Regions from separate parts of the Homo sapiens genome. Here all the other regions are linked to region 3. The links are contacts of gene promoters, found by promoter capture Hi-C in human tissues and cell types (Jung and others, 2019). All regions are on one chromosome and are shown on one strand. Each heading gives the region's core, a stretch centred on a gene start or on the middle of the fragment in contact. The rest is flanking DNA. Distances are from core to core; before and after follow the strand shown. Region 1 has its middle 19 kb from the start of SYT8. Region 2 has its middle 7.4 kb from the start of MOB2. Region 3 holds the start of KRTAP5-5 (keratin associated protein 5-5).

Region 1 (2,700 bases), core at 192-2,691, 190 kb after region 3:
ATGGTGCATGGCGAGCCTGAGTGGCACTGTGTTAGGACAAACAAGAAATCCTCCCCTTGCAGAAGGCTCTGGGCCTGGGCCTTGCCTGTGTCCCCTCCCCTGCAAGGAACCACCCTTCCTCCATGGAGGGGCAGCTTGGTGGGCCTGTCCATCAACTGGTGGCTGTGGCCATGCTCCCCGAGAAGGAAGACCGTGTCATTCCAGGGACTGCTCATGGGCTCCCGGACCAGGAAGCCTGAATGGGCTCTTTGGTTCTTTCTTCTGGTCTGACGGCTGCCCCTCCTTCCAATAAATGCCCTCTTTTCTTCCTGGCTTAAGTTCGCCAGCTTCAGTTTGTGTTATTGCAACCAGAGAGCCTTAACCATCCCCAGGGCTCTGTGATGATTCCACTGGAATTTCCCGGTGGTGGTGGGGCACTGAGGCCCTGGGGAGGCTACGGCCCTAGGAGGCTGGGCCTGGGGCATGGGCGGCCAGGAGCCTGCTGGGTGGCTGGGCGCTCTGGGCATCACGTCCAGGGCCTTCCCGGGAGAAAGGCCAGATACAGGCCCAAACACCAAGCTCTTTCCCTCCCTTCCCCAGGAGAAGGGCCCCATGGGAGCAGGGGTGTCTCCTTCCATAAACGGACAGGGGCTGGGCTCACGTGTGAGTCCCCTAGAAGGGGTGACAACTTCTGGCCTTTCTGAGAATACTCCAGGATGACAAGGTGGGGAGATGTGGAGCTGCAAGAAGTGCTAGCATGTTCCTCGGGAATGAGGAGATCTCAGAGTCATGAGGGCTTAACCCACATTGTAGTGGGCCCAGGAATGGGACTAACTTCTGGATAAACTCAGGGAGAATGCACCAGAAGACAGCAGCCCACAGAGCTGCCTTGCCACGCATTCCCGGGATGAAGGCAGCTGAGGCAGGAGCTCTAGGCTGGCTAAGAACACAGGTGTCATCCAGGACCACTTGATGTCAGCTGGGGCCACCCAAACTGCCTCAAAACCTACAAACGGTGGCTGTGTTGGCCATGCATGGGGCACCCCATGTAAGAGCAAATGGCGCAGGTGACCCACCTGTTGGAGTGGGTCTGGTTGGACAAACCAAGGGGTGTCCACGCTGGGGAGCCTCTGTGGCTGACAGTGGGTGAGAGGCTCTGGGCAAAGCTGTGGCTGGTCTCCCAGACCCGTGTCTGGGGCACTCAACATGGGGCAGACCAGATGGGGATTAACACACTGTCGTTTACTAAGAAAGGTTTTGGGGTGTGAATAAATATCTTTTAAAAGATGGAACTGTCAATCAAAGCTTGCAAAAAGAGACCGGGCGCCATGGCTCATGCCTGTAATCCCAGCACTTCGGGAGGATGAGGCGGGCAGATCACATGAGGCTAGGAGTTTGAGACCAGCCTGGGCAACATGGCGAAATCCCGTCTCTACTAAAAATACAAAAATTAGCCAGGTGAGGTGGTGGGCGCCTGCAGCCCCACCTACTCAGGAGGCTGAGGCAGGAGAACGACTTGAACCCAGGAGGCGGAGGTTGCAGTGAGCCGAGATCACACCACTGCACTCCAGCCTGGGCAATACAGCAAGACTCTGTCTCAAAAAAATAAAAATAAAGCTTGCAAAAAGGGGCAAGGGGCACCTGAAAGAGACAGCAACCAGGATGCTGAGCAACCTGCCTGTGCCCTGTAGTTTTTTCAGTCATAAAACAGTTCACATAAAACAGTTCACAGTCATAAAACGGTTCAGATAAACGTATGCACTCCAAGAAGTCAAGAAAGAAACTTAAAATCCTGTAGGTAAATTAGAAATATCAGTATGATTCCATGATATATTTACCTTTAAAAATATATATTTCCAGCTGGGCCACAGTGGCTCACTCCTGTAATCCCAGCACTTTGAGACGCCTAGGCGGGTGGATCACTTGAGGTCAGGGGTTCAAGACTAGCCTGGCCAACATGGTGAAACTCTGTCTCTACTAAAAATACAAACATTAGTTGGGCATGGTGGTGCATGCCTGTAATCCCAGCTACTCAGGAGGCTGAGGCAGGAGAATTGCTTGAACCCAGGAGGTGGAGGTTGTAGTGAGCTGGGATCATGCCACTGCACTCCAGCCTGGGTGACAGAGCAAGACTTTATCTTAAAAAAACAAAACAAAAAAAAGTTATTTCCTAAGCCAGTCAAAAAAAGAAAAAAGAAAAGACAAATACTGTATGATTCTATTTGTATGAGGTCCCTAGAGTAGTCAAATTTATAGTGACAGAAAGTAGGATGGCGAGTGCCAGGGGCTGGGGGAGGTGGAGGGGGAGTTGGATTTAATGGGAGCAGAGCTGCTGCTTTTCGAGACAAAAGGCATTCTGGAGCTGGATAGTGGGATGACAGCAGCGCGAATGTACTGAATGCCACGGAACTGTGCACTTAGAAGATGGTAAATTTTGTTACACATATTTTACCACCATACAAAAACTGGAAAAATAGGTCTTGCCTAATTCTGTCCACAGTAAAAGCTTAGAAACAATGAAAATAGACTAGTAGCAATGAGCACCCTGGCACCCAAAGTGGGACCTCTAAATACCCACCAAACTCCCTTCAAAAAGAACCGTGAACCCTTGGAGAAATGACTGGTTCTGGGCTGAGCCATGACATAGCCATGACATAAGATAAACCTGGAACTTCTCATTGCATCAGAAAGCTAAGAAACAATCAAAGACTACTGAGGTCA
Region 2 (2,700 bases), core at 47-2,546, 140 kb before region 3:
CCAGACTGGAGACACCTTGGGCGAATAGATTTAACAGAGATTCCACAATGGCTGTGCCATGGGGACTGGGCTACAATAGCCCAGAGTGAGGGGGTTCTCTGGACCTGGCATAATAAAGCTTAAAAACAAGCCTCAAACGGATCCTAGCTAACCAAGAGCAAATTAACTGCCTTCCAGAACAAACCACACTACTCTTTAAGGGAGGAAAACAGAACTGAGACTTTCAACAACATTGCTACCACAATACCTAGTGTACAAAAAAATTACTAGACAGGTGAAGCAGAAAAATGTAACTCATAACCAGGAAAAATAAGTCAACAGAAACAGGCCTAGAGATAACAAAGATAATGAAAGTAACAAACAAAGACTTTAAAAGAATGAAATAAATATATTCAACGATTTATTTATTTATTTAGACAGTGTCCTCTATTGCCCGGGCTGGAGTGCAGTGGCACAATCTCGGCTCACTGCAACCTCTGTCTCCCAAGTGATTCTCCTGCCTCAGCCTCCAGAGCAGCTGGGATTACAGGCGAACGCCACCAAGCACAGCTAATTTTTGTATTTTTGTAGAGATGAGGTTTCACCATGTTGGCTACGCTGGTCTCAAACTCCTCACCTAAAGTAATCTGTCCGCCTTGGCCTCCCAAAAGTGCTGGGATTACTGGCATGAGACATTGTGCCCGGCCAATATATCCAAAGATTTAGAGGAAAGGTTGGACATAATCAACAAAGCAATTAGGGCTCTGAAAAAATCGGAAACTCCACAAAATAATAAACAAAAATTCCTGGAACTGAAGAATACATCGAAAATGAAATTTTTGAGATGAAATGAACATCAGATTAAACAGTGCTAAAGAGAAGATTACAATAAAAACATCACTTATAAAAATGTGTAGAATGCAGCTAAAGCTCAGCTGAGGAAGAAATTTATAAATGTTCATATTAGGAGAGAAGGCTTAAAATGAGTGATTCATACATCCACCTTCAGAAGCCAGAAAAAGGAAGTGCATATTAAATGCAAAGTGGAAGGAAATAACAGAAATCTATGAAATGAAAAATAGACAAATAATGAAGAATTAAACACAAAGTTAGCCTGGAAAACTTAAAAAAAAAAAAAGATCAATTTCCCAAGCAGACTAAGCAGAAAAGAGACAGAGAGCCAAGAGAGGAAGAGGGCATAAATTACCGATATCAGAAATGAAAGGGACATTCCTACAGATCCTACAGATATTAAGCGGGTAACAAAGCACTATAAGGAACTGAATGCCAAGAGAAAATGTAGATGAAACAGACAAATTTTTCACAAACACAAGCTACCAAAACTGACATACAAAGAAGTAGAAAATCTGAATTTATAATTAAAAATCTTTCTACAAGGAAATGGTGGGTGCAGGTGGCTTACGGATGAACTCTACACACGATATAAGTAAGAAATAATACAAACCATACACATACTCTTTCAGAAAACAGAGGAGGAGGACCAGCATAATGCTGCTGCCAAAGTGAGACAACAGCATTCCTAGAAAAGGGAAATTACAGCCCAATATCCTTCATGAATGTGGATGCAAAACTCTGTAATAAAATAGTAACAAACTAATTCAACAACGTATTGAAAGGATAATACAGCATAGCCAAGAGAGATTCACCCAGTAATGTAAGCTTAGCTAACACCTGAAAATCAATGTCATTCACCACATTAATGAAAGGAGAAAAAAATATGGCCATCTCAATTAGATGCAGACACAGCACATGGCAAAACGTGTATGCAAACTCTCAGCAAACCAGGAACAGAAGGGACCATCCTCAGCTGAGAAAGGACACCTATAAAAAATCTGAAGCTAACATCAAATGCTGCTGATGGAGTAAAGATTTTCCCCCTAAAATCAGAAACAAGGAAGGGGCTCTGAGCACTTCTCACTCTCACCACTCTTATTCGGTGTCACTCTTATACCAGCGGCACAATGAGGCCACTGTAATGAGGCAAGACAAAGGTATACAAGGCATAAATACTGGAAAGGAAAAGGTCGTCTTGTTTGGCAGGTAACATGGTTATGTAAACAGAAAAGTCTAAGGAAACTGGGGCAAGTCTGCTAGAACTAATAAGTAAATTTAGTGGCATCACAGGGCACAAGGTCAGTAAAGAAAATTAATTTTATTCCTATATAATAGCAACAAATAAATGGAAAATACAATTATAAAACTGCTATTTACAATATAATTTTTAAATTTAGGAATAATCTTAACACAAATGTACAAAGCCTCTCACTGAAAAGCACAAAACAATGCTGAGAAAAATTAAAGACCTAAACACATAAAAAAATTTGCCATGGCCATGGATTAGAAGACTCAATATTGTTAAGATGTCAATTTTCTTAATTAAATACAATCCTATCAAAATCCCGGGATAATTTCTTATTTTTAAAAGAAATTAACAAGAAGATTCTTGGTTTTTTGTTTGTTTTTTGTTTGTTTGTTTTGAGACGGAGTTTCACTCTTCTTACCCAGGCTAGAGTGCAATGGCACAATCTCAGCTCACTGCAACCTCTGCCTCCCGGGTTCAAGTGATTCTCCTGTCTCAGCCTCCTCAGTAGCTGGGATTACAGGCACCCGCCACCATACCCAGCTAATTTTTGGTATTTTTAGTAGAGACGGGGTTTCACCATGTTGGCCAGGCTGGTCTCGAACTCCTGACCTCAGGTG
Region 3 (2,700 bases), core at 136-2,635:
GGCGCTGGATGCGAATGTATCAGGCGCTGGATGCGAATGTATCAGGCGCTGGATGCGAACGTATCAGGCGCTGGATGCGAATGTATCAGGCGCTGGATGCGAATGTATCAGGAAGCAAATGTATCTGTTGCCTCTGTTCCAGAGCTGGAGGATGCCGCCTCTGGTGGGGACAGCCAACACAAGGCGGCTCTCTCCTAATGGGTTTTCTGTTCCTCCCTGAGATACAGTCCCCTGCCCCAGAACAGAGTGGGGCTCCAGCATACACGGCAAGAGTCACCGAGTGCCAGCTGGTGTTTACACCGTGGCCTGAGGCCTGTTGACTGGGCTCGGGGCACTCACAGGTATTGTGGTCACGGGGGCAAATGGCCATCCGGTTCCCTGCTCTCCACCGGCTTTCTTTAGCATCCAGTGGGCCTGCACCCGAATGTAGTTGCTGCTTCCCAGGCTGAGCCCGGGACCCGGAGCAGGCGGGCACCCAGACAGGGCATCCTCTTCCGCTCACTGGCCCTGAAAGGGCCTCTGCCATCAGCCTGTGCCGCTGTCCGGGAGCCCCTGGGCCGGCCACGCAGTGGGGGAACCCGCTTCACAGCGACACCGTGCGGCGGCAGGAGGAACCGCTGCAGGAGACAATGCGATCTGGGTCCTGACCCAGCGCAGAGGCAGTGTCTGCCCCTTGCAATGCTTGGATTTCCTTCCTCAAAAGGCAGCCTTCGATGATCTGAAATTCAAGTTCCAGCAGGCATCCTGTACTGTATCTGTCAGCCCTGCCACCCGAGTGGTCTGAAAGCCCTGGAAGAGACCGCGGTTATCACAGGAGAACACTTTCCATGGGGAGCACGCAGCAAGCTCCAGAATAAGCGCTTAAAATCCCCGTCTCAGTCAACACTGCAAACCTTCCAACAAAGTCTTACACCGAAAACGACCCTGCTGAGCTGAGGGCTGAAGCCCCAGGTCCTGGGACCCTTGGAAACAGCCCGCGGGCCAGGAGCTGCTGTGGACCGTGAAGGTGTAGGGCCTAGGCACGTCCCAAGCAAGACACGATGCTCCCGCAGAGGAATCTTCCCGGGAGCAAGCCAGGAGTCCTGGGCTCAAAATCACCCTCGGCAAGACCAAGGCCTCTGAGCGAGCCACTGCCTGCCCATCGCTTCCTTCTTGTCACATGGAAAGGGAAACTCACCGCGGGGCCAGTGTTTACTGAGGGGCCGCTTCCATCACAGACCTGACAGCACATTCGAGAAAAGTGCGAGGAAAACAGGAGTTATTTATAAAAATGTAAAGCAGAAGAGAATACTGGGACCAGTGGCACAAGCAGGAACCAGGAAGTGACAGTGTGCCCAGCCTCTCACCTGACCCTGGACAGGGATATAAAGAGCCCGGGCTCAGGGGGCTCCACACCTGCACCTCCCTCTCACCTGCTCCTCTACCTGCTCCACCCTCAATCCACCAGAACCATGGGCTGCTGTGGCTGCTCCGGAGGCTGTGGCTCCGGCTGTGGAGGCCGTGGCTCCGGCTGTGGGGGCTGTGGCTCCGGCTGTGGAGGCTGTGGCTCTGGCTGTGGGGGCTGTGGCTCCGGCTGTGGAGGCTGTGGGGGCTGTGGCTCCGGCTGTGCGGGCTGTGGGGGATGTGGCTCCGGCTGCTGTGTGCCTGTCTGCTGCTGCAAGCCCATGTGCTGCTGTGTGCCAGCTTGTTCCTGCTCCAGCTGTGGCAAAGGGGGCTGTGGCTCTTGCGGGGGCTCCAAGAGAGGCTGTGTCTCCTGTGGGGTGTCCAAGGGGGCCTGTGGCTCCTGTGGGGGGTCCAAGGGGGGCTGTGGCTCCTGTGGGGGGTCCAAGGGGGGCTGTGGCTCCTGTGGGGGGTCCAAGGGGGGCTGTGGCTCCTGTGGGGGGTCCAAGGGGGGCTGTGGTTCTTATGGCTGCTCCCAGTCCAGCTGCTGCAAGCCCTGCTGCTGCTCCTCAGGCTGTGGGTCATCCTGCTGCCAGTCCAGCTGCTGTAAGCCTTACTGCTGCCAGTCCAGCTGCTGTAAGCCCTACTGCTGCCAGTCCAGCTGCTGTAAGCCCTGTAGCTGCTTCTCAGGCTGTGGATCATCCTGCTGCCAATCCAGCTGCTACAAGCCCTGCTGCTGCCAGTCCAGCTGCTGTGTCCCCGTGTGCTGCCAGTGTAAGATCTGAGGCTCTGACTGCAGACTGCAGGTGGCCTGACTGGTGAAGGGCCCGGCTGCCCAGCTTCCTTGCCCTGGGTTCTCTGGTGCTCCACTGTCTCCACTGTGTCCTCACTGGCTTCATCCACTCCACACCAGTGCTCCCGAAACTGACTGAGGACCCCTTCTGGCTCATTGCCTACTACTTCTCCTGAACTTCCTCTCCCTGCTCCTCACTCATTTAAGATCCAAAGCGGCCCACTGAGGCCCCAGAGGCAGATCAGACCCCTTAGACCCTGACAGCTGCTCCTTCTTTCAGGAGTGTGATCGACCCTCAATCTCTCTGGCTGTCTGTATATCAAGACTGAATCCTGACCCTCTAAATAAACAAAGTCTCTAAGCACAAAGCTCACTGTCTTGTGGTTCTCTCCTTCCCACCTCTCTCTCATTCCCAGAAGCACCATCTTCTTGCCTCCACCCCTGGGCCTGTTCCCATTTCTCTCCCCTCAGCATCTTTCATGTCATGGTCCATGTCTTCATGCACAGAACTAACGTCTATAGCTTTC

What was found. Contacts are between HindIII fragments. The study calls those that stand out against the background at their distance.
Region 1: a contact is called between a fragment that was not itself captured here and the fragment with the promoter of KRTAP5-5 in region 3, in 3 of the 25 tissues and cell types used here (IMR-90 fibroblasts, aorta and dorsolateral prefrontal cortex).
Region 2: a fragment that was not itself captured here is called in contact with the fragment with the promoter of KRTAP5-5 in region 3 in 2 of the 25 tissues and cell types used here (lymphoblastoid cells and mesendoderm cells).

The regions. Positions count from the first base shown.
Region 1 is chr11:1,814,896-1,817,595 of GRCh38, forward strand. No RefSeq gene overlaps it. Among named protein-coding and RNA genes, the nearest start is that of SYT8, 19 kb to the right of the region's middle. The HindIII fragment of the contact is 5,465 bases long and covers 1-2,700 here.
Region 2 is chr11:1,492,854-1,495,553 of GRCh38, forward strand. No RefSeq gene overlaps it. Among named protein-coding and RNA genes, the nearest start is that of MOB2, 7.4 kb to the left of the region's middle. The HindIII fragment of the contact is 6,425 bases long and covers 1-2,700 here.
Region 3 is chr11:1,628,390-1,631,089 of GRCh38, forward strand. It overlaps KRTAP5-5 (keratin associated protein 5-5), which reads left to right and starts at 1,386. Exons shown (of 1, transcript NM_001001480.3): 1 at 1,386-2,541. The coding sequence starts at 1,452. The coding sequence ends at 2,165. The HindIII fragment of the contact is 7,029 bases long and covers 1-2,700 here.